Regions from separate parts of the Homo sapiens genome. Here regions 2, 3, 4, 5 and 6 are each linked to region 1. Evidence: promoter capture Hi-C in 16 types of primary human blood cells and fetal thymus (Javierre and others, 2016). All regions are on one chromosome and are shown on one strand. Each heading gives the region's core, a stretch centred on a gene start or on the middle of the fragment in contact. The rest is flanking DNA. Distances are from core to core; before and after follow the strand shown. Region 1 holds the start of NUDCD3 (NudC domain containing 3). Region 2 has its middle 7.4 kb from the start of MIR4657. Region 3 holds the start of MYL7 (myosin light chain 7). Region 4 overlaps GCK (glucokinase). Region 5 has its middle 22 kb from the start of H2AZ2. Region 6 overlaps CAMK2B (calcium/calmodulin dependent protein kinase II beta).

What was found. Contacts are between HindIII fragments. The CHiCAGO score rates a contact against its expected background, and 5 or more counts as called.
Region 2: a fragment that was not itself captured here is called in contact with the fragment with the promoter of NUDCD3 in region 1 in 1 of 17 cell types (naive B cells); the score reaches 5.3 in naive B cells.
Region 3: the fragment with the promoter of MYL7 here is called in contact with the fragment with the promoter of NUDCD3 in region 1 in 16 of 17 cell types (fetal thymus, M1 macrophages, activated CD4 T cells and 13 more); the score reaches 16.1 in fetal thymus.
Region 4: a contact is called between a fragment that was not itself captured here and the fragment with the promoter of NUDCD3 in region 1, in 5 of 17 cell types (M0 macrophages, M1 macrophages, endothelial precursors and 2 more). The highest score is 7.5, in M0 macrophages.
Region 5: a fragment that was not itself captured here is called in contact with the fragment with the promoter of NUDCD3 in region 1 in 1 of 17 cell types (monocytes); the score reaches 5.5 in monocytes.
Region 6: a fragment that was not itself captured here is called in contact with the fragment with the promoter of NUDCD3 in region 1 in 5 of 17 cell types (endothelial precursors, M0 macrophages, M1 macrophages and 2 more); the score reaches 12.9 in endothelial precursors.

Annotation. Positions count from the first base shown.
Region 1 is chr7:44,489,023-44,492,420 of GRCh38, reverse strand. It overlaps NUDCD3 (NudC domain containing 3), which reads left to right and starts at 1,763. Exons shown (of 6, transcript NM_015332.4): 1 at 1,763-2,012. The coding sequence starts at 1,821. RefSeq lists a silencer at 2,012-2,181. The HindIII fragment of the contact is 1,642 bases long and covers 1,381-3,022 here.
Region 2 is chr7:44,872,656-44,876,053 of GRCh38, reverse strand. No RefSeq gene overlaps it. Among named protein-coding and RNA genes, the nearest start is that of MIR4657, 7.4 kb to the left of the region's middle. The HindIII fragment of the contact is 1,673 bases long and covers 1,028-2,700 here.
Region 3 is chr7:44,139,753-44,143,150 of GRCh38, reverse strand. MYL7 (myosin light chain 7) reads left to right here and starts at 1,819. Exons shown (of 7, transcript NM_021223.3): 1 at 1,819-1,848; 2 at 2,077-2,190; 3 at 2,364-2,439; 4 at 2,724-2,828; 5 at 3,291-3,369. The coding sequence starts at 1,846. RefSeq lists an enhancer at 2,165-3,007. The HindIII fragment of the contact is 19,152 bases long and covers 1-3,398 here.
Region 4 is chr7:44,158,780-44,162,177 of GRCh38, reverse strand. The region is part of intron 1 of GCK (glucokinase); the gene reads left to right. Among named protein-coding and RNA genes, the nearest start is that of MYL7, 19 kb to the right of the region's middle. The HindIII fragment of the contact is 6,327 bases long and covers 1-3,398 here.
Region 5 is chr7:44,824,375-44,827,772 of GRCh38, reverse strand. It overlaps a transcript of H2AZ2 not described here. Among named protein-coding and RNA genes, the nearest start is that of H2AZ2, 22 kb to the left of the region's middle. The HindIII fragment of the contact is 3,658 bases long and covers 1-3,340 here.
Region 6 is chr7:44,225,648-44,229,045 of GRCh38, reverse strand. CAMK2B (calcium/calmodulin dependent protein kinase II beta) reads left to right here. Exons shown (of 24, transcript NM_001220.5): 19 at 122-250; 20 at 2,402-2,530. Among named protein-coding and RNA genes, the nearest start is that of YKT6, 26 kb to the right of the region's middle. The HindIII fragment of the contact is 6,943 bases long and covers 1-3,398 here.

The DNA.
Region 1 (3,398 bases), core at 514-3,013:
AGAATTTTGATGTCATTTTAAAGACAAATAGCCACATTTATTTGAAAAGACAAAATATTCCTCTCATTTGCAACTGTCTGTGTGAGGTTGCATGTTTTCATATACTTCAATGAAAACAACATAATGCAAATTATGTTGCAGTGAATGCAGATGTGAGAATCTTGTGGTCTTCTTTTTTTTTGTGGAGACGGAGTCTAGCTCTGTCGCCCAGGCTGGAATGCAGTGGTGTGATCTCGGCTCACTGCAACCTCTGCCTCCCGGGTTCAAGCGATTCTCCTGCCTCAGCCTCCAGAGGAGCTGGGATTACAGGCACCTGCCATCACGCCTAGCTAATTTTCGTATTTTTAGTAGAGACAGGGTTTCACTGTGTTGGCCAGGCTGGTCTCGAACTCCTGATCCTCCCGCCTCGGCCTCCCAAAGTGCTGGGATTACAAGCATGAGCTACTGTGCCGGCCAAATCTTGCTGTCTTCTAGTAGGCTCATTAAAGAGATTTGCAAAAATGTAAAACTATGTTACTCCTCTCACTGAACTTTTATTGCTTTGAAGAACATTATTTTTTGCATAAAAGTATGTTAACATGTAATGTGTTTTATGGTCATTTAAAAATGATTAAATAAATATTTAAACATTTTATGTTTTAATTTCTAATGTGGTAAATATTGATAAGCATAACCCATATCAACAAATGTTCTTTGGAATGTTCAACAAATTTTAAGAGGATTAATGGTCCCTAAATCAAGAGTTTCAGAACCACTGTTCTAGGGCAATTTACCTGAGTTGGATTTTATTTACAATTCATTAAAGCTTATACACTATGAAGACATGTTAACTTGCATGTTTTAATCTAGAAGAGGTGCAAATCATTTCTATACACTAGAAATGATAATCTATGGTTTTATCATCTTGTAGAACACCAGCCAGCTTTGTATCCAACCTAATCTTACTCTAATGCTTTGTCAAAATGTTTAATCTCCACTTCCTCAAAATGCTTTTGAACCAGCTTTACCATATCATTGTTAATTTGCTGAAGAAATCTTGGATATGTGTTCATGATATATTTGTATGAGTGTCATGCTTTTTACTTTTTTAAGATTATACTTTGACAGACACTAACAACATATGTATATATGACGTATATATGTATATACATACTATACACACACATACACGTACATATTTCACAACGATGGCATACGGATTCTCTATTCTGAATCTAGCTCTTTCCACTTAATATACGTTGAATGCACTCTTTATTTTCTTCGTCATCTTGACTTTCTTCTGATGCAACGCCCTGAGTTTAACTCACAGATCTGTTAATAAGAAACCCATACATCCCACATATACGCATTTTCCCGTCTCTGGCTCACTAACAAAAAGCTTACCCTAGCCCCATCTTTAACCATAGGTTCCAAATACCCAGGCTGGAATTCAACACAGAAATAAGAAAGGATCCACAGACAACGTGACAAAAATCCGAGCAGTCACGTGACACTGCACGCCCCATAATTTTTTTCCGCCCGCTTCAAACATGGCGGTCAAGCCCTCGCAGCGCAGCAGAAGCCACGGGCTTCCTTCCGCGTAGGAACCTCCTTGCTGCCCTTGTCGGGCTCTTTTGTCTAAGACCACCTCAAGGCAAAGCCCGTGGGGCAGCTGGGTCTGGGGAAAACAGCCCGGGGCCGCGGGGGCCGAACGAGCACGGACCGGAAGTTCCGCAGCCGCGCCGTCCGGCGGAGCCGTTGGCTGCGGACGCCGGAAGTGGCCAGTCGGCAGGTCTGAGGCGGCGCTGTGTGTGTGAAGCGTACCTAGGGCGGGAGGCGACATGGAGACAGGGGCGGCCGAGCTGTATGACCAGGCCCTTTTGGGCATCCTGCAGCACGTGGGCAACGTCCAGGATTTCCTGCGCGTTCTCTTTGGCTTCCTCTACCGCAAGACAGACTTCTATCGCTTGCTGCGCCACCCATCGGACCGCATGGGCTTCCCGCCCGGGGCCGCGCAGGCCTTGGTGCTGCAGGTGAGGCGGGCGGGCCTGCGGTCTGGGGAGCCGCCGCCCCCGGCCTGCCCTGACTCCTGGCGCCCGCTCCTCCAAGCTCTCCCAGCCTGTTTCCTCCTTTTCCTGGTGTCCTGGGGTTGAGCTTGTGAGAATGGCTTCAGTAATTTGAAGCGCGGATTGGATGTCAGCTTATTCCGCTGAGGTGTTCGCTCCGGACGTCCTGAGGTTTCAGAAGTAGTAAGCCGACTGTTAAGAGCCCTACTCAGCACCCGCCAGCGCGTACCCCTCACGGTGCTGGGGGCCGCTAGTCAGGGAGCGAAATCCATGCAGGCCAGACAGAAGGAAGGACATTTACAGCAACAGAAACGTGCATGCCCCAGAACTACCAAAGACTTGAGCTGGCGGGGATGACGGAGGCATTGTGTTGATCAATGGGTGTGGTCGCTTGTTTGAAATGTGACTTCCCAGGTCAAAGACTGTCAATGTAGTGCTTATTAAAATTTCTATTTGAGCTTAATTCCGTACCCTCCAGGTTAAGTTTATTGTATGTTGGAAACGCTGTCAATACTCATTCAGTGAAGTTGACTGGGCACTTTTGAATGTAGTGGTAAGCAACCTTTTGCTGAATGTAGTTTACACTCTTAGTTGCCGCAGGTGAGGGTGATACGGGTGTTTAAGTAATGGTTTCTCTCTCCTTGTGACACAGTTAAAGAGAGAAAACCCAGAAAGTAATAGAAAACTTTTTAAGGGCAATTATTTGATGGAGCCCATTGTAAAGAAAGGAAATAGAAATGATGGTTGAGAAGTGAAGTTTTTATAAGAGAGGTGGGACTTCTGATGAGATTAAAAGAAACTATTCAGCCAAGTATTAAGCCTATTTGTAGAAACCCAAGAAGATAGAAATGCTGATGATACCTCCCTCAGTTCTCTAGATGTTACAGTTTATAAAATGCTTCAGATGTTTCCTCCTGAAGTCTTAATGCATGCTGCAGGTTGGTAAGATGTTACTTTCCTCAGCAGAAGCCAAAGCTTTGAATGTCTTGGTAGCTACCAGGGTAATAGGGCCAAACGAGGAATGGGGTTCCATTAGGATTCAATTTCAGAACTTAAGGCTATTCCTCGTCCTTGTCAGTGGCATAAGTGCCATCTTAGTGATGAGAGAGCTGTTGGAGGTGGCCTTTAGCAGGATCTTATGGCAGGTTAATGAAGTCTTGCCATTTGATCTTCAGTGTCTCTGTGAAACAGATAAGTTTCAAGTTTACGTACCAATTCAGCAAGGTTAAGTGATTTGACCAAGAACACACAGCCAGTTCACCGTAGAGCTGAAACTAAAAATTTCATTTTGTGGATTCCAAATCTTCCTGTTCTGTTGTTTAACCATTCCATAGTAGGATGAGAACACTTTTG
Region 2 (3,398 bases), core at 615-3,114, 380 kb before region 1:
GACAGCCACTTGGTTCCCTTAATTTCTTCCATCATTTACAATGGCTTGAAAGAAACTGCTAAGTCTTCATTCATTGTTTATCAACATTGTAGTTGCTTAGGAGGTAAATTAGGGCAGCCTTTTCTTGCCCTAATGTTTAAGAAAAAAACTGAATTGTGTCCATTTATCCTGGCCAGGTTGGTCTCAGGAACCCCTTTACAATTAAATTTACTGAATATCCCCAAGGAGGTTTTATCTTTCTAGGCTTTATCCGTAGATACCATTTTAGAAGCTGAAACTTTTTTTTTTTTTTTGAGACGGAGTCTTGCTCTGTCGCCAGGCTGGAGTACAGCAGCGCAATCTCAGCTCACTGTAACCTCCGCCTCCTGGGTTCAAGCGATTCCCCTGCCTCAGCCTCCCAAGTAGTTGTGATTACGGGCACGTGCCACCACGCCCGGCTAATTTTTTGTATTTCAGTAGAGACAGGGTATTACCATGTTGGCCAAGATGGTCTTAATCTGACCTCGTGATCTACCCATCTCAGCCTCCCAAAGTGTTGGGATTACAGGCGTGAGCCACCGCGCCGGCCAAGAAGCTGAAACATTTTCCAGACAAAAATAACAAGCACACATTCCATCAGCTATCAGAGCAATTACATGATAATGTCATAGCCTCTGGAAAACTCCACTGTAAATTTATGAAAGAATGAAAGTGGAAAATGCGAATGTTCTTATGAACATAGTTTTGACCTCTTGGGCTCCTGAGTCTCGGGCAACCCTAGGGGATTCTGGATCACACTCTTGAGAACCACTAACTAGACTAATAAGTAAATAGTGCCTTTCTGAAAATGAGGGATGGTTTTTTATGTATAGATAGCTTAATCCTTTAGTTCTCGTATATTTTCTTTATATTAGAAGCTCCTGCTACGAAATGCCTACACCGCCCCCAGCCCCCCCAACACACAACATACATAACTTTCCTGTGATTGTCCATTTCTACAATCTCTTAAGTGGTTCTCAATGCTGGCTGCAGAACCACCTGGAAAGCTTTGAATACTGATGCCCAGGCACCACCATAGACCAACTGAATCAATCTTTGAGACACAGACATGGAGTTTTTTGGTAATGCTTTGCCTTTTTGAGTTCCCCAAGGTGATTCTAGCCTACAGTCAGGGGTGAAACCAGTGGCCTGTGGGATTTTAAGGTATAAAGAAGGGAAAAGGGTTGGGAATCTCTGCCAGAGGAAAACAAAAGAGTATAGCAGAACATTCCTTGAATGTATGGCTTTCACCTCCCAACCACTGTGCCTAAATTACCACTTAAACCTCTAAAATAACTCATCTTGAGAAAAGTTTGTAAATGGAATCCTTCAGTATTGATATTAGTAGTCCCTCCCTGGGAAAATCTGGGGTTTTACTAGCACAGAGGAACCCTTAGCATGCATCGGAGTCACTTAGAGGGCTGGTTAAAACATGGATTACTGAGTTTCTGATTTAGCAGTTCTAGAGGGAACTTAAGTTGCATTTCTTTTTTTTTTTTTTCCCCTTGAGACAGAGTTTCACTCTTGTTGCCCAGGCTGGAGTGCAATGGCACGATCTCGGCTCACTGCAACCTCCACCTCCCAGGTTCAAGTGATTCTCCTGCCTCAGCCTCCCGAGTAGCTGGGATTACAGGCACGTGCCACTGTGCCCAGCTAATTTTTGTATTTTTAGTAGAGACAGGGTTTCTCCATGTTGGCCAGGCTGGTCCCAAACTCCTGACCTCAGGTGATCCACCCGCCTCAGCCTCCCAAAGTGCTGGGATTATAGGCGTGAGCTACCGTGCCCAGCCTTAAGTTGCATTTCTAACAAGTTCCCAGATAATGCTGATCCTGCTGATTTGAGGACCATGCTTGGGGACTAACTGCAGAAATCAACAAAAGTTATGGAAAGAATTAGCTTAGTTGCCAACTGACACAGGTCTCAGGAAGTATTTGCCCTGATGAGTTAGTCTGCTGTAGTGCTGCTGAGGCTGGGTTTGGTTCACTAGAAACCCTGTAGATGGTTTGAATTTTTCAGATTCATGTGAAGTTTGTTACTGTACAAGTTTAAACAATAGATGCAGCCAGGCTACAGCCTGAAGAGCTGCATTAGAGCAAATGCCTGCAGGAACAGGGCTATTACCTTTATAGTTTTTGTATTTTTTCATGTCATGACTATCCCTGACTGTTCTAAACTAACAGTCTGATTTTGGGCAAGTACCTTCAGTACCAAAATCTTTTTTTTTTTTTTTTTTTGAGACATAGTCTCACTCTGTCACCCAGGCTGGAGTGTAGTGGCGTGATCTCAGCTCACTGCAACCTCCACCTCCTGGGTTCAAGCAATTTTCTGCCTCAGCCTCCTGAGTAGCTGGGATTACAGGCGCCCGCCGCCATGCCCAGCTAATTTTTTCTTTTTATTTTTAGTAGAGACTGGGTTTCACCAAGTTGGCCAGGCTGGTCTTGAACTCCTGACCTCATGATCCACCTGCCTTAGCCTCCCAAAGTGCTGGGATTACAGGCGTAAGCCACCACGCCCAGCCCCAAAATCTTTTAATAACAATTCTTAGCTCAGATCGTTTGTAAATTCATTCAGTTAATTATTGGGTAGCTGCTATATTCCAGGTATTGTACTAGGGTAGAGGATACGGTTGTCGTTCATATGGGACTTATAGTTTAGTGGGTCGGGAGAAAGAAGAGAAAGCTTTTAGGAAGAACTAGTCTCCCTAGCTACTAACCAGGCCTCCATTCAAGCAATAGATAATTTGATTTGCAACATCGTTCCTGACCCAGACATTTGCTCCTTACAAGAGACAGCCCCATTTAAATTTAAAAGAAAAGGAAATACTCCCTACACAAGACAGATGTTTAACTTATCTTAGACATCCATGGTACCTTATGTAGACCCCTCAGTGGACCTAATTAAGGTCTCCAAACTAGTTAATGACAACAGCAAACATACATCTAAATTAGCTCTCTTGACATGACACCATGTTGTTATAGAAAGGACAAACTTCTTACTCCTATACTGTGTGTCTGAGATGACACAACAAATCCACTGGTAGTTTGTAGAACAGAGGTTGGAGAGAATGGACTAAGTCTCTCAAGCCTGTGGGTAACACAGAGATTGCCCTAGACTCAACCCTCACACACACTTCCCCACCTTCTCACATGCAGGACTGTACCAGGAATTCCTCCACGCAACCCTACACTGTCCTCACACTCAAAATCATCCTATCCTTTGCCTCATTTACTCAGTACCCCTTATAGTTGGTGGCCATTTCTTTTCTTTTTTGAAGTTATAGTCTCCAAACTTTCTTTTATTACAAAATTAATGCAACTCATTTTTACAAAGATGAACAGTATAGATTCTCTGTAAAGACATAAATGAGCTCTCCCTCTCC
Region 3 (3,398 bases), core at 570-3,069, 350 kb after region 1:
GTAATCCCAGCACTTTGGGAAGCCAAAGCAGGTGGATCAAAAGGTCAGGAGTTCGAGATCAGCCTGGCCAACATGGTGAAACCCCAACTCTACTAAAAATACAAAAATTAGCCGGGCATGATGGCGGGTGCTTATAATCCCAGCTACTCAGGAGGCTGAGGCAGAAGAATTGCTTGAACCCAGGAGGCGGAGGTTGCAGTGAGCAGAGATTGCACCACTGCACTCCAGCCTGGGCAACAGAGCGAAACTCTGTCTCAAAAATGAATTAATTAATTAAAAAAAGAAAAAAAAAACACTGGGCAGGGTGGTGTGCACCTGTAGTCCCAACTACTCCAGAGGCTGAGGCAGGAAGGAGCACTTGAGCCCAGGAGGTTGTCTGCAGTGAGCTCTACTCATGCCACTGCACTCCAGCCTGGGTGACAGAGCTCAGTGGCTTACACCTGTAATCCTAGCACTTTGGGAGGCTGAAGCAGGCAGATCACCTAAGATCAGGAGTTCGAGACCGGCTGGCCAACATGATAAAACCCCGTCTTTACTAAAAATAAAATAAAATAAAAAATATATATAAAAATTAGCTGGGTGTGGTGGCACATGCCTATAATCCCAGCTGCTTGGGAGGCTGAGGAACAAGAATGGCTTGAACCCGGGAGGCAGAGGTGGCAGTGAGCTGAGATCGCGCCACTGCACTCCAGCCTGTGCGAGAGTGAGACTCTGTCTCAAAAAAAAAAAAGGGAATTTAAGAAATTTAAAAGAAAACTCTTGTTATATAAAAAGGGTATTGGGTCTGACAGATAAGAGCTCCTGCACTCTACCAGCCAGCTACTGACAGACATAGGTCTGGCTCCAGTGGAGGGGCAGCAGCCAGTGAGCCCAGCCTGGGGTGGCCCACTCCTGCTGCCTCCAGGATGTCCCCTGTTTCCCCAGCCCCTCTGCTGTGCCCTCGGCCCCAGAAGCTGGCGAGACTGCTTCTCTGGAACAGCATCACGCAGGCCTGCCCATCGGCCCACTGTGCACCAGGCCTTCTGGGGATACAGATGTCAACCAGGTGGGGTGCTCAGGAGGGGCACAGAAGCCAGGAATGACAAACACATCAGCCACCAGGCAAATGGGAAATGTGCCCCAGAAGCTCCCTGCTGAGGATGTTAGGGAGAGCATTCTGAAGTAGTGTGGTTGAGATGAGGCTTGAGGAAGGCAAGGCTCCAAACAGCAGGGCAGACTGGGAGCAAGGTAGACTGCATGGGAGGGCAGCTGATGGAGCTCCTTAACCCTCTGGAATTGCCCCAAAGCCAAGCAAAGTGTTCTTCTTGGGGTCACAGCTAGCTCAGGGATGCCTTCTGCCCCTTGGTCAGAGGGGCAAAAGGTCAGAGCCTAGGGTCACCAAAACCTCTGGGAAGCCCCGGGGGTCTCAGGCCACAGACCATCCTCAGAACTACACACTGCCCTCCCATGCCTGGCGGGGGCCCTGGACTGGCCCTCACCAGCTGTCTTCTTGCACTGGCCAGGGTTCTGGCTGGACTGGCAAGGAGGGGTGGTCAGATACAGGAGTAACTGGATCCCTTCATCAGGACCTAGGGTGGTGAGAGCTTTGAGCCTGCTCTGCTCCAGGCAGACATTGTGTCTGGCCCTGCCAGGATGGATAGACAGCAGGATGTTACACGTTGAGGACATGAAGGTCATCAGGAATGTGGCTGGAATCTGTTAGGCCTCCCCCAGCCCAGGCGGGGGCTGCCAAGTTTGGGCCTATCCTCTGTTCCTCTCCTTATTTGGACCTTCAGGTGATAAGGCTGAGACATAAAGGAGGCTGGGCCCTGCCACCACGACAGCAGCCACACCTCTGCAGAGAGAATGGTGAGTGCCTGCTGGGGAAGAAAGGCTAGCGGTCTCCCAGGTGCTGGCCTTTGGGCTGGGGGAGCAGAGTTTTCTGTGCTTGTGTTGGGTTGAGGGTGGTCCCCAGGGAGAGGAAGAGGATCCTGGCCCTGGCTCTCCTGGGAATGCTCTGGGACTGTGCATGATGGGTGGGGTGGGGAGACTCTGAGGAGTTGGGGAGAGGACCCCTCCCTACTCACAGTGTTGCAGGCCAGCAGGAAGGCGGGGACCCGGGGCAAGGTGGCAGCCACCAAGCAGGCCCAACGTGGTTCTTCCAACGTCTTTTCCATGTTTGAACAAGCCCAGATACAGGAGTTCAAAGAAGTGAGTGCCCACTCCCAGTAGCCTCAGATCCCATCCTGGCCCCCCCACCCCACCCCACATACATACCCCCCTTCTACCCTGACCTTGCCTCTCACACCACCCAGGTCTCTCCCCCACCTCCCACCTTCCCTAGAGCTGGGGGCTGCTCCCACCTGAAGGCCCCCATCCCACAGGCCTTCAGCTGTATCGACCAGAATCGTGATGGCATCATCTGCAAGGCAGACCTGAGGGAGACCTACTCCCAGCTGGGTGCGTGCACCCACCTCCCACCCTGCGCACTGGGGTCCCTACTCTGAGCTGCTGGGCGGGTGGGAGTGGCTGGGGGGACAGGACTCTGCTCCCCTGCTTCCCCTCCTCCCCGTCTCCTCACACTGCCCTTCCCCCCTTGTCACGCCTTGCTTCCACTTCACCTTCCCGACCCACAGCTGCCTCTGCCCCTCCAGCCCCTGTGGCCAGGATGGAGGGAGGGCGGCCTGGGCCTTCTGGGGGACACCCAGGGTCCCTGTGTGCACCTCATGCCCCACCCCCACCAGGGAAGGTGAGTGTCCCAGAGGAGGAGCTGGACGCCATGCTGCAAGAGGGCAAGGGCCCCATCAACTTCACCGTCTTCCTCACGCTCTTTGGGGAGAAGCTCAATGGTGAGCCTGGGACAGAGCTGGGCACCCTTGGCCAGGCAGGGAGCCTGCACCCTGCCTGAACCCCACCTGAACCCTGCCTGAACCCCACCTGAACCTTACATGAACCCCACCTGAACCCTAACTGAACCCCACCTGGACCCACCTGGACTCTTCCTGGCCATGACCCATTCCAAGCACATCCTCTGCCCCAGAATCCCATGTGCACTGGTCACCCCAGTGCTGACTTGGAGCCAGGAAATGTGCCTTCAGCCCCCACCCCCAAATTCCAGTCTCCCAGCCAAGCTGCCCGCCTCAGGAGGATGACCATTCCCAGCCCCACTGATCCCCGAGAAACATTTTATGTTAGGGAATACCCCCACCTCTTCTGGGATGTGGGAGGCTCCTCATGCAGCCCAGTTCCTCCTGCGGGGGACCTGGGATGCTGGAGACATGGATGCTCACCTGGCTGCCTCGGCCTTCCAGGGACAGACCCCGAGGAAGCCATCCTGAGTGCCTTCCGCATGTTTGACCCCAGCGGCAAAGGGGTGGTGAACAAGGATGAGTAAGTATGGGCCCAGCCAGATGAGGAGC
Region 4 (3,398 bases), core at 572-3,071, 330 kb after region 1:
TGGGCCTCCAGGCTTGCTTCTGTGCAAAATGGCAGATAAGGCTCAACCTTTCTTTTTTTAACTTCATTGTTAAATATTACTCCATTAATACCCATTTACTGCAGAAAAGGTAGGAAATACAGATAAGCAAAAAGGAAAATAAATTAAAATCCTCATACCACCATCATCAAGATAATTACTGTCACCATTTTGGTATATTTCCTCCCAATACATATATTATCTATATCGTATATACGACAAAAATGGATCATACTATGTTTCCTGTTCTTCCCCTGTGTTAGTCATCTATTGCTGTATAACAAACTGCCTCAAAACTTAGTGGCTTCACCTTTCCGTGTATTATGATGACAAGAATGTGGTATGACACTGTCTTATATCTGGATCATATGCTAAAAGATAGAAAATGGTTTCTAAACTTATTTGTTCTGTAATAACAAAATTTTATTTCATAAAGTGTTTTTAAAAAAAACCATAGTAGCTTGAAACAACAAACCTTTGTTATCTCACACAGTTTCTGTAGGTCAAGAATTCAGAAGCAGCTTAGCTGGGTGGTCTGGCTTGGTGTCTCTCCTGAGGTCAGGGTTTTGGCTGGGGCTGCATCACCTGAAGGCTTGACTGGGGCCAGAGGAGCTGCTTCCAAAGTGGTCCACTCACATGGCTGGCAAGTTGGAGTTGCGTATTGGCAAGAGACTTCGCTTCTTCTCAATGGATCTTCCCAGAGTTCTTGTAGGCAACCTCATAGCATAGCAGTTGGCTTCCCCCAGAGGGAACAGTCCAGGAGAGAACAAGGCAGAAACCACAGGGTCTTTTCTGGCTTAGGCTCCAAAGTCATACTCCACCATTTCTGCATTATCATATTAGTTACACAGGCTAGACCTATTCTGCATGGAAGAGACTATACCATGGGGTGAATACCAGAAGCAGGGCTAATTGAAGGCCAGCTTCAAGGGCGGCTACACATTCCCTTTCAACAGTATGTCATGAACATCTTTCCATGCCAATAGAGCAGATGAATCTTACCATTTTTAATGACTACATGTAAGTGTAGCATAATTTATTTAACCAACCTCCTGTAGTTGGGTATGTGGGTTGTGTCTCGTTTTTTGATAGTAGAATTAATCATCTTGAATATCCATCACCAAACTTGTCATATTATTTTCTTTTGATGAATGAAAAAGAAAATCAAGTCATGTCTGTCAATCAGAACCCTGAGCAACTAAGAAATGGGGGTACCACTGGGACATAGAGCAAGGTCCCTTCTGATTCTGCTCTTGTCTTTCTCTCCCCATGAAATGGGGAGTTCACTATCTACTGAGACATCCTAGCCCACAGCTGCACAGTTCTGTCTTTTTAGAAAGCTCTAAGCAGAAACAATGTTCATCCATCCTCCTCGGGACAGCCCTTGAGCTACTGAAGACTCTAAGCATGTCCTGGTCATCCTCCATGAGCCATCATCTCTGAGGCCCTCCCCTTCTTGGCCCCTCTTCTCTGGACAGGTTCTGGACAGTCTTGCCCTTCCAAAATTCCTGGAAAGCAGGAACTGTTCCTGCTACAATGACTCTCAACTCCAGTGCAGTACAGACTGTTGGTGTCACCCCTTATCCTGAAGAAGAGGCACTGAGACAGGACAAGGGTGGGTGCCCAGGAGGGCTGGCATGAGTCATGAGAATCTGGTCCCGGAGAATTAGACGGTGTGGGGAAGTAGGGGTGTTGGGCCGCTTTCTGGCCTCATGGATGCCAATGAATATCAGCAGGTGGCTCCCAGAAAGGAACTCTAGGGGATGCCTGTTGCTCTAAATAGAGGCTAGAGAGGGCACTGGCAGTTCAGTCAACCAAGAAAGGGGGCCCACTTGCCTCAGCTTCAGGCTTTGTACACATCCTCAGCCTTTCTTGAGAACTGAATTTAGATTCTCCTCCCCTGTGCTGTGTGCTTGGCCCAGAAGAAGGGCAAGTCTCGCTGGGTGGCTGCTTCTTGGCCTGGCTGAACCAGAAGGCCCCAGTGCCACTCCAAACCTGGGTGTGAGCCCTGCCCCCATGAGCAAACAGTAGCTCAGAGCTGGGGGCTGTGGGGGTCAGTGGCCTGTCACATGAGATCTGATGAGGCCATCTCTGCTCTATATTGGGAAAGGGATCAATTGTATCAAGGGCTTTCTTGGGAGTGATCACTCTGGCCATTGGCGAGAGACCTGGCATTCTGACAAGGCACCCTCCATACCCTGACCCACTTGCCAGCTCCAGCTAATTTTAGCAGGCTTTGGCAGGTGCCAGCAAGTACATAGCATGTGGATGTCACTCCCAGGTGAGCCCAAGGAGAGGCCTGGGCCAGAGCCTGGAAGTCATGGTCTATGCCCATGGAGGCACCCAAAGCAAGCCTGAGGCCTGGACTTTGCAGTCACAAAATTAAGAATGATACCCCTGTTTTTTGTTTGTTTTTGATCAGTTGGCCACCTTCCTCCACCACCCCTTCCCCAAGTTCCATACAGACCCCTGGATTGTATGAAATGCAAATCGAACCTCTCTGCAGATGAAAATCCACTGGGGATCCCCTTGCCTCCAAGAGCAAGTCCAGACCTGCACCAGCGCGGGCCAGGCCCCCTTAGGACCCCCTCCCTGTCCAAGGGCATTTCAGTAAGTGTTCTGTGGCCAAGGCAGCCTGGTGACTTTCTGCCCGCACAAGGCTGAGGAATGGAAGATGGGTAGGCTGGCTCTGCACACCCCCTCCTGCTGGGCAGCAATCCCTACCCCATGTTCACAGAGTGTGGCCGGCTGCCCCATGGCTCTGTCCCCGTGGCCCTGTCAACTGTTACCCACATGGCCTACCCTCCCTTTCTGCCCTGCCTCTGACCCCATGGCAGGGGGCAGAGTATTTGAGCAGCCGCCAGGCTGAGCCCTTTCAGTGCAGAAGCCCTGGGCTGCCAGCCTCAGGCAGCTCTCCATCCAAGCAGCCGTTGCTGCCACAGGCGGGCCTTACGCTCCAAGGCTACAGCATGTGCTAGGCCTCAGCAGGCAGGAGCATCTCTGCCTCCCAAAGCATCTACCTCTTAGCCCCTCGGAGAGATGGCGATGGATGTCACAAGGAGCCAGGCCCAGACAGCCTTGACTCTGGTAAGGGTCACACCAAAGTTAGGGACTTTGCACTGGGAGAGCAGCACCCAGGGCAGGGCCCTTGGTTTTGCAGATTACCAAAACTAAGGCTGGGGGCAGGGAAGGCGAGCAGGCTTGGGGCACCTTGGAAGGAGGCACATGGGCCTTGGGGGTCCTGGCTAGGGCAGCTGTGCCTGCCACTGGCCCTCTGCCCACCACCCCTCCTCACTGTGGCTATCCAGTGTCCAGCCTCTCGAGGGGTTCTAGGGTACTTATTCCTGGAGCTAACGGTGACCCAGGACACCAGTGTCCGG
Region 5 (3,398 bases), core at 262-2,761, 340 kb before region 1:
AGCAAAGGGGTCAACTCCCTAAATGGCAGCTGAGACAGTCCTCCCTGGTGGCATGGCCCTGTTTCCTGTTGATATGGTGATAGTTGGAGAGTCAAATTTTTACCAGAATTTGTGAATATCATCTCTGGTTAATGATTACACAAAACCTTTTAAAATTTTAAAAAATTATTTCTAATTCTATAAATAAACTCTGCAGTTGTACAGCCACTGTACAGCTAACATCTCAACACTGGAAATGAGGCTGGTTTCTTCCAGTTTGGCTCAGATTCTTCAGGGAAGCCCAGTTAAGACAAACAGCTCTCTATACTCAATCCTTACTTTGCTGAGAAGATACAGGCCTGCCCACTCGCTCCCACCTGCTCTTCACGAGGAGTCCTTTATTCCTGCATGTTTCCTGTTCTTTGGGACCTTTAGGAGCTAACCTCCACAGATGCTGATAGTCTGTAGAGTCAGGAATACCATGTAACATGTTGAAGTAGACTAAAGATTAGTTCTTTGGCAATAGCCCAGTCTGGACTTACTATGTACTTTTGAAAATAAAACTGCTTATTTGTAAACTCTGTAATTAGGACCTTTTGCTATTTGAGTTATATTCCTTTCTAACTTCAAACGTCTGCATTCATGTATAATAGCCATTTTATGCACAGATGAGGTGATTCCCACACTTTTTTTCGCAGATGTTTCATTATCTGGATGAGTGTATTACATAATAAATTTGAATAATGGTAGTCTTCCAAATGACAAAAAGCAAGCTAGTTGATTTGTCAATTTTGAGTTTAAATGTTTTGACTGCTTATCAGCAAAAAAAATCAAAGAATAGCATACTAATATTAATGGAAATGCAGAGTATATTTAATTGGCATGATTTTTTCATGGATGTGTGCTTCATTTGATCTATTGTATGTAGCTCGTGATCACATTTTCTGTTGGTTAACATTGTTCCTAGCTTATATGATGGAATTAAATATATTCTGTGTAAAAAGAGGTATGGACTAAATATTTCTGGACGATGGCTTTCAGCTTTAGAAACTCTGAGAAAGGGCTGGGTGTGGTGGTGCACACCTGTAGTCCCAGCTACTTAGCAGGCTGAGTAGGATTGCTTGAGCCTGGGAGGTCAAGGCTGCAATGAGCTATGACCATGCAACTGCACTCCAGCCTGAGCAACAGAGTGAAATCCTGTCTTTAAAAAAAAGAAGAAGAAGGAGAAACTGAAAAAGTGAGTCCTCCCATCTCTGAAGGTGTTGGAGGAGAGGGTGGGCCTAACCAGCCCTGGCCACTCTCAGGCCACACTCTGCTGAAGAGCCTCAGGCTCCTCTCAGTTTTCCATCTCCACAGCAAGAAGGCAATAATACTTCATTTTACAGATGAGGAAATTCAGGCAGAGGAAGATGATTCAACATCCCAGGGTCACATAATCTGAAATGGGAAAGTGCTGAGAATCTGGTCTGTTTAGCTCCAAAACTTAAGTTTTTTTCCTATGGAAGGGGAAGGTCACTAAACATTTCTTTGAAAACCTACCAGCCTGCCTTATGTGGATTTAGCTCATTTAACCCCCTGAATAAATCTGGGAAATAAATACCAGCCTCATTTTACAAGCAAAGAAATTCAGATTCAGAGATGTTAGATACAGCCTGGCGCGGTGGCTCACGCCTGTAATTCCAGCACTTTGGGAGGCAAGTGGATCACTTGAGGTCAGGAGTTTGAGACCAGCCTGGCCAACAAGGTCTACCAAAAAATACAAAAATGAGCCAGGCATGGTAGCACGTACCTGTAGTCTCAGCTGCTCGGGAGGCTGAGGTGGGAGAAATTGCTTAAACCTGGGAGATGGAGGTTGCAGTAAGCCAAGATTGTACCACTGCACTCCAGCCTGGGTGACAGAGTGAGACTCTGTCTCAAAAAAAAAAAGAGATGTTAGCCCAAGCCCAGGGTTACATGGCTCCAGTTGGTGACACAGGAATCTGAACCCAGGTCAGTCTGACCACAAATCCAGGTCAGTGCAAAAAGTCACGAGTCTGCTCAAGGGGGTCTGCAGCTGGCCCGTGGACATGCGATGGCACTTACATTCTTCTGGTTTGCTTGAGGCCACATATAGAAAAGTATCTATAAAGCCCTCATGTTAATGTCTCACATGTAGAGCCAGGTGGCCTTTTGAGCTTAGGTAGCTTTGTGCCTATTTATCGTCTGGGCTTTCAAAAAGAGTTTGTGGAATAGGTATATATGAGAGGTACATGTATTTCCTGGATGGACAGAAGCCGTGACTCCCTGTTTAGTATGGAGCCAGGCAAGTCTGGCACTCAGTATTCAGTTTAGCACTTCCTGCACACAGGCAGGCTCATCTAGTCTCCAGCCCAGCCCTACAAGCCCCTCACATGCCCAGAATGCCAGTGGGAAACTAACACTCTGGGAATTGCCTATAAGCCTGTAGACTCCATAGCCTCCTGCCACAGCTGAGTGTGAGTGTGGACCTCAGCAGCTGAGGAACTCTGCTCCAAGGCTTTGCTTGGTGGAGTTCAGCAGCAAAACCCTATGTGACAGCCTGTCCTGTCAAAAACTTGCTCCTGCTCCCACACAAGCTGCCTTTTTTTTCTCTTATCAGGAGCATCAATTCCTCAATCCCCATTCCGCTTTTACTGCCTCTGCCCACTTCCTGCTATCTTCTTCCCCAACTCTGAGTACAGCCACATACTTCTGGAAACTCATGATAATCTGTTTCAGATATTCTTCCTGGAGCACATTCATACTGTATTCACACATTGCAGAGCACACATTCTGACCTTCAGTTCTGACCTTTTCTTCAGATTTACACACATCCTTTCATTTTCCACTAGCTCCCTATGCTCTTGTAGTCACCTCCTAATTACCCAGTTTTGTTTGTTTTTTTAGAGACAAAGTCTCATTGTGTTGTCCAGGCTGGTCTTGAACTCCTGGGCTCAAGCAATCCTCCTGCCTCAGCCTCCCAAAGTACTGGAATTACAGGCATGCACCACCATACCCAGCCCAGTCTTCCAGTTTTAACCCATTCTACATACCACTGCCAGACTGTCCATATACCACATTTTAGACTGTCCCTAAAATGTGGCCCTTTGAGTCTGGCAAACCCTGCTCCAGTCAGTGCCTGTCTCATCCAGGAAGGCAAGGCCTTGTGTCTGCATCTGAGGACACATACTCAAGCTGCTTCCTTTACTGGTCCTCTGTCATCAAGTTTGGTTTTCTCCCACCAGTGAGTGTGATTTCATTTCCAGCTCATCCTCTGGTCCTGATGTATTGAAAGTCTTCCATATGCCACTGCAGGGGCTTTGCACACAAACTGCTACTGTCTGGCTGCCACCCTCAAGAAGCTTATAACCTAAGTGAAGGAAGGAGACATGGGCATATAGACGGATTCCAGGCACAAGGCC
Region 6 (3,398 bases), core at 621-3,120, 260 kb after region 1:
GGCCTGATCCCAGGGCCCAAGGGGTCTAGAACACGGGACCCCTCCCACTGGCCTCCTCCGCCTTGCCGCCGCCTCGTGTGTCTGTCTGCCTCATGTTCACGTCTCATCTGTTCCACCCCAGCCCCCAGGATCTCTGACATCCTGAACTCTGTGAGAAGGGGTTCAGGAACCCCAGAAGCCGAGGGCCCCCTCTCAGCGGGGCCCCCGCCCTGCCTGTCTCCGGCTCTCCTAGGCCCCCTGTCCTCCCCGTGTAAGTAGTGGCCCCCAGGCCTGCCGCCTCTGCTGCCGGACAGCTCCCTGCGAATGGCCGGCGCTCAGCAGCTTCCCACCTGCATGCACGGCCCAGCTACCCTGCCCCGGCGCCGCAGCCTGGAGTCCTGCCCTGGCGGGGCTTCCTGTGGGCTCCCATGCTAACCAGCAGGGCAGCTCCTGGCTTCTCCCTAAGGGGCCCAGACCCCTCCACGGCTCCTGCTCCCACTGCCACTCCCCGCTCGCTGTCCAGCCCCAGGCCCCTCTCCAAAATGTCTGTCCCAGCCCTGGGCAGCCCTGGCCCCTCCGAGGCCCCCCATGCCCCTAGGCCCTCTCTGCTGATCACTGTCCCAGCCCCACAGACTTCACACCCACCCAGGGGCCCTGCCCATGGTGCCCAGGAGCTGCACTCAGGGCCACCCTGGTTCCTGATGTGGCCCCAACCCCTGAGCACCCTCCCTCAGTCTAGGAGGCTGAGGAAGGTGCCAAAACTGGAACCCCGACCAGGGTCTCTGGAGCTCACCAACAAGGGGATAGTACGGAGAATCATAAGCCTGGCCTCTGCTGACCTGGGCTGTCCTCATGGGGCCAGGCCAGGCCTCCTCTGTAACGCCCGTGACTCCCTCCTCTCCCTGTAACCCCGTCCAGCGTTCCTCAAGGGCCACTTACCTGACAGCTTCTTGCTGGCCAGCAGCCTCTCCCTGGAGGGTGCCCTCTGCCCCCAGCAGCTTCAGCCCACGCCACCCGACAGCCAGAGCATCTGCCCTTCACTCCTGCAGCCTCCTCTCCACGCACCACGCTGTCCGCAGCAGCACCCTCTGTCCCCCTGTCTCCCTCCGTCCCCCCATATCCCCCTCGGTCAGCCTACAACCTCTCCACGTCCCCCTAAGTCCACGCTCTATCCCTACATCCCCCTCTGTCCCCCAAATTCCCCTCTTTCCCTCATTTCCATTTTCCTCCCCAAACTCTGCTCTGCCCCTCACATTCTCCCTCTGTCCCCCACACCCTCCTCTGTCCCCCAGACTCTCCCTCTGTCCCCCACACCCTCCTCTGTCCCCCATATACCCCTCTGTCCCCCACACCCACCTTGGTCCCTTCACGCCCTTTTCTGTCCCCCACACCCCCTCTGTTCCCTACACTCTCCCTCTGTCCTCCAGACCCTCCTCTGTCCCCCACACTCCCTCTGTCCCCCACACCCCCTGTCCCCCACACTCTCCCTCTGCCCCCCAGACCCTCCTCTGTCCCCTACACTCCCTCTGTCCCCCATATCCCCCTCTGTCCCCCACACCCTCCTCTGTCCTCCACCCCCTGCCCCCCATACCCCCTTCTGTCCCCCACACTTCCTCTGTCTTCCACACCCCCTCCTGTCCCCCACACCCCCTCTGTCCCCCAGACTCTCCCTCTGTCCCCCACACTCCGTCTGTCCCCCACACCTCCTGTCTTCCACACCCCCTTCTGTCCCCCACACCCCCTCTGTCCCCCATACTCTCCTCTGTCCCCCACCTCCCCCTCTGTTCCCCACACCGCCTTCTGTCCCCCACACCCCCTCTGTCTTCCACTTCCCCTCTGTCCCCCACATCCCCCTCTGTCCCCTGCACCCTCCTCTGTCCCCTGCACCCTCCTCTGTCCCCTGCACCTCTCTCTGTCCCCCACATCCCCCTCTGTCCTCCACACTCCCTCTGTCCCCCACATCCACCTTGGTCCCCTCACGCACCCCCATCCCCCATGACCCCTTCTGTCCCCCACACCCCCTCTGTCTTCCACACCCCCCTCTGTCCCCCACACCCACCTTGGTCCCCTCATGCCCCCCATCCCCTACACCCCCACTTTGTCCCCCCACATGCCCCTCTGTCCCCCACGTTCCCTTCTGTCTCCCACGTCTCCTCCATTTCCCGTTTCCCTCTCTGTCCCCCAAGCTCCCCTCCATCCCCCACATCCCCTTCTTTCCCCTATATCCCCTCTGTCGGCCCAGGTCCACCATCTTCCCCCCACACCCCCCCATTCTCCCTTCCTCCCCTCTGTCCCCTTGTGCCCCATCCCCCACATCTGCCTCTGTGCCCCTCAATCTCTGGCTTGGCTGTCTGCCCATGGTTTCTCTCCTGCGTGCCCCCCGTGCCTGCCTTGTGTTCACGTCTCGTCTGTTCCGCCCCAGCCCCCAGGATCTCTGACATCCTGAACTCTGTGAGGAGGGGCTCAGGGACCCCAGAAGCCGAGGGCCCCTCGCCAGTGGGGCCCCCGCCCTGCCCATCTCCGACTATCCCTGGCCCCCTGCCCACCCCATGTAAGTAGCACCTTGAGTGGCCGTGGCAGCGGCTGCCCGGAGGGGCTCGGGGCGTGCGAGCCTGGCAGTGGTGCTCTGGGAAGGGCCATTCTTGCGGAGGAGGGCGGGGCACAGGATCCCTCTGCTGGGTCCCAGGGAATTGCTTTGAAGCACATGAAGGTGCCACTGGGTCTCAGAAAATGGAGGTTATGGTTATGAAGTGTGTATGACATATGTGTATAGGAAGAGCGTCCGAAAGAGCAGGTTTGTTGCCGACCCCAGCATTCGCAACCCTGAGGTCCACAGCTTTCTCCTGATGGGAGGGGAATGGGTGGCAAAGGGTCTGCGCGTGTGGCAAGGGCTAGCACGCCAGGAGCTGCTGGCTTGGGTCAAGGTGGACCTGCTGGGCCGGGACAGAAAAGTGTCAGTCCCGGCCTGAGACGCTCTAGCATTAGAGCTGTCCAAGTCCAGACAGCAGGGAGCAGGTGGGGATCGGGAGGCGCGGATCTGGGGGGCAGCTGGGGCCAGGCTGAAACAGAGCGGGCGGGACAGGAAGCACAGGCTGGGCAGCCTCCCCGGCCAGGGAGGAGCCAGGCTGGGCCACCTCCCGGTCTGTCTGCCGACTACCCGCAGTATCACTTACAGGGATGGATGACATCCCAGGGCTGCTGCCACCCCCACCTGTGGGGAGACACCAGACTGGGGGTGGTGTGGAGATACTCTTAGAGAAGAGGCTGCTGGGCCACGGGCTCGGCATGGCAGGGCAGTGGCTAGGTAAGTACTTGAGGGACAGGTGGGGTCTGCTTGCCACCGTCCCCTCTGCAGGCTGGGCCTGGGGGCTGCTGCAGGCGGCCAGGGCAGAAGGGTGTGGGGAGAGTGAACCCACAGG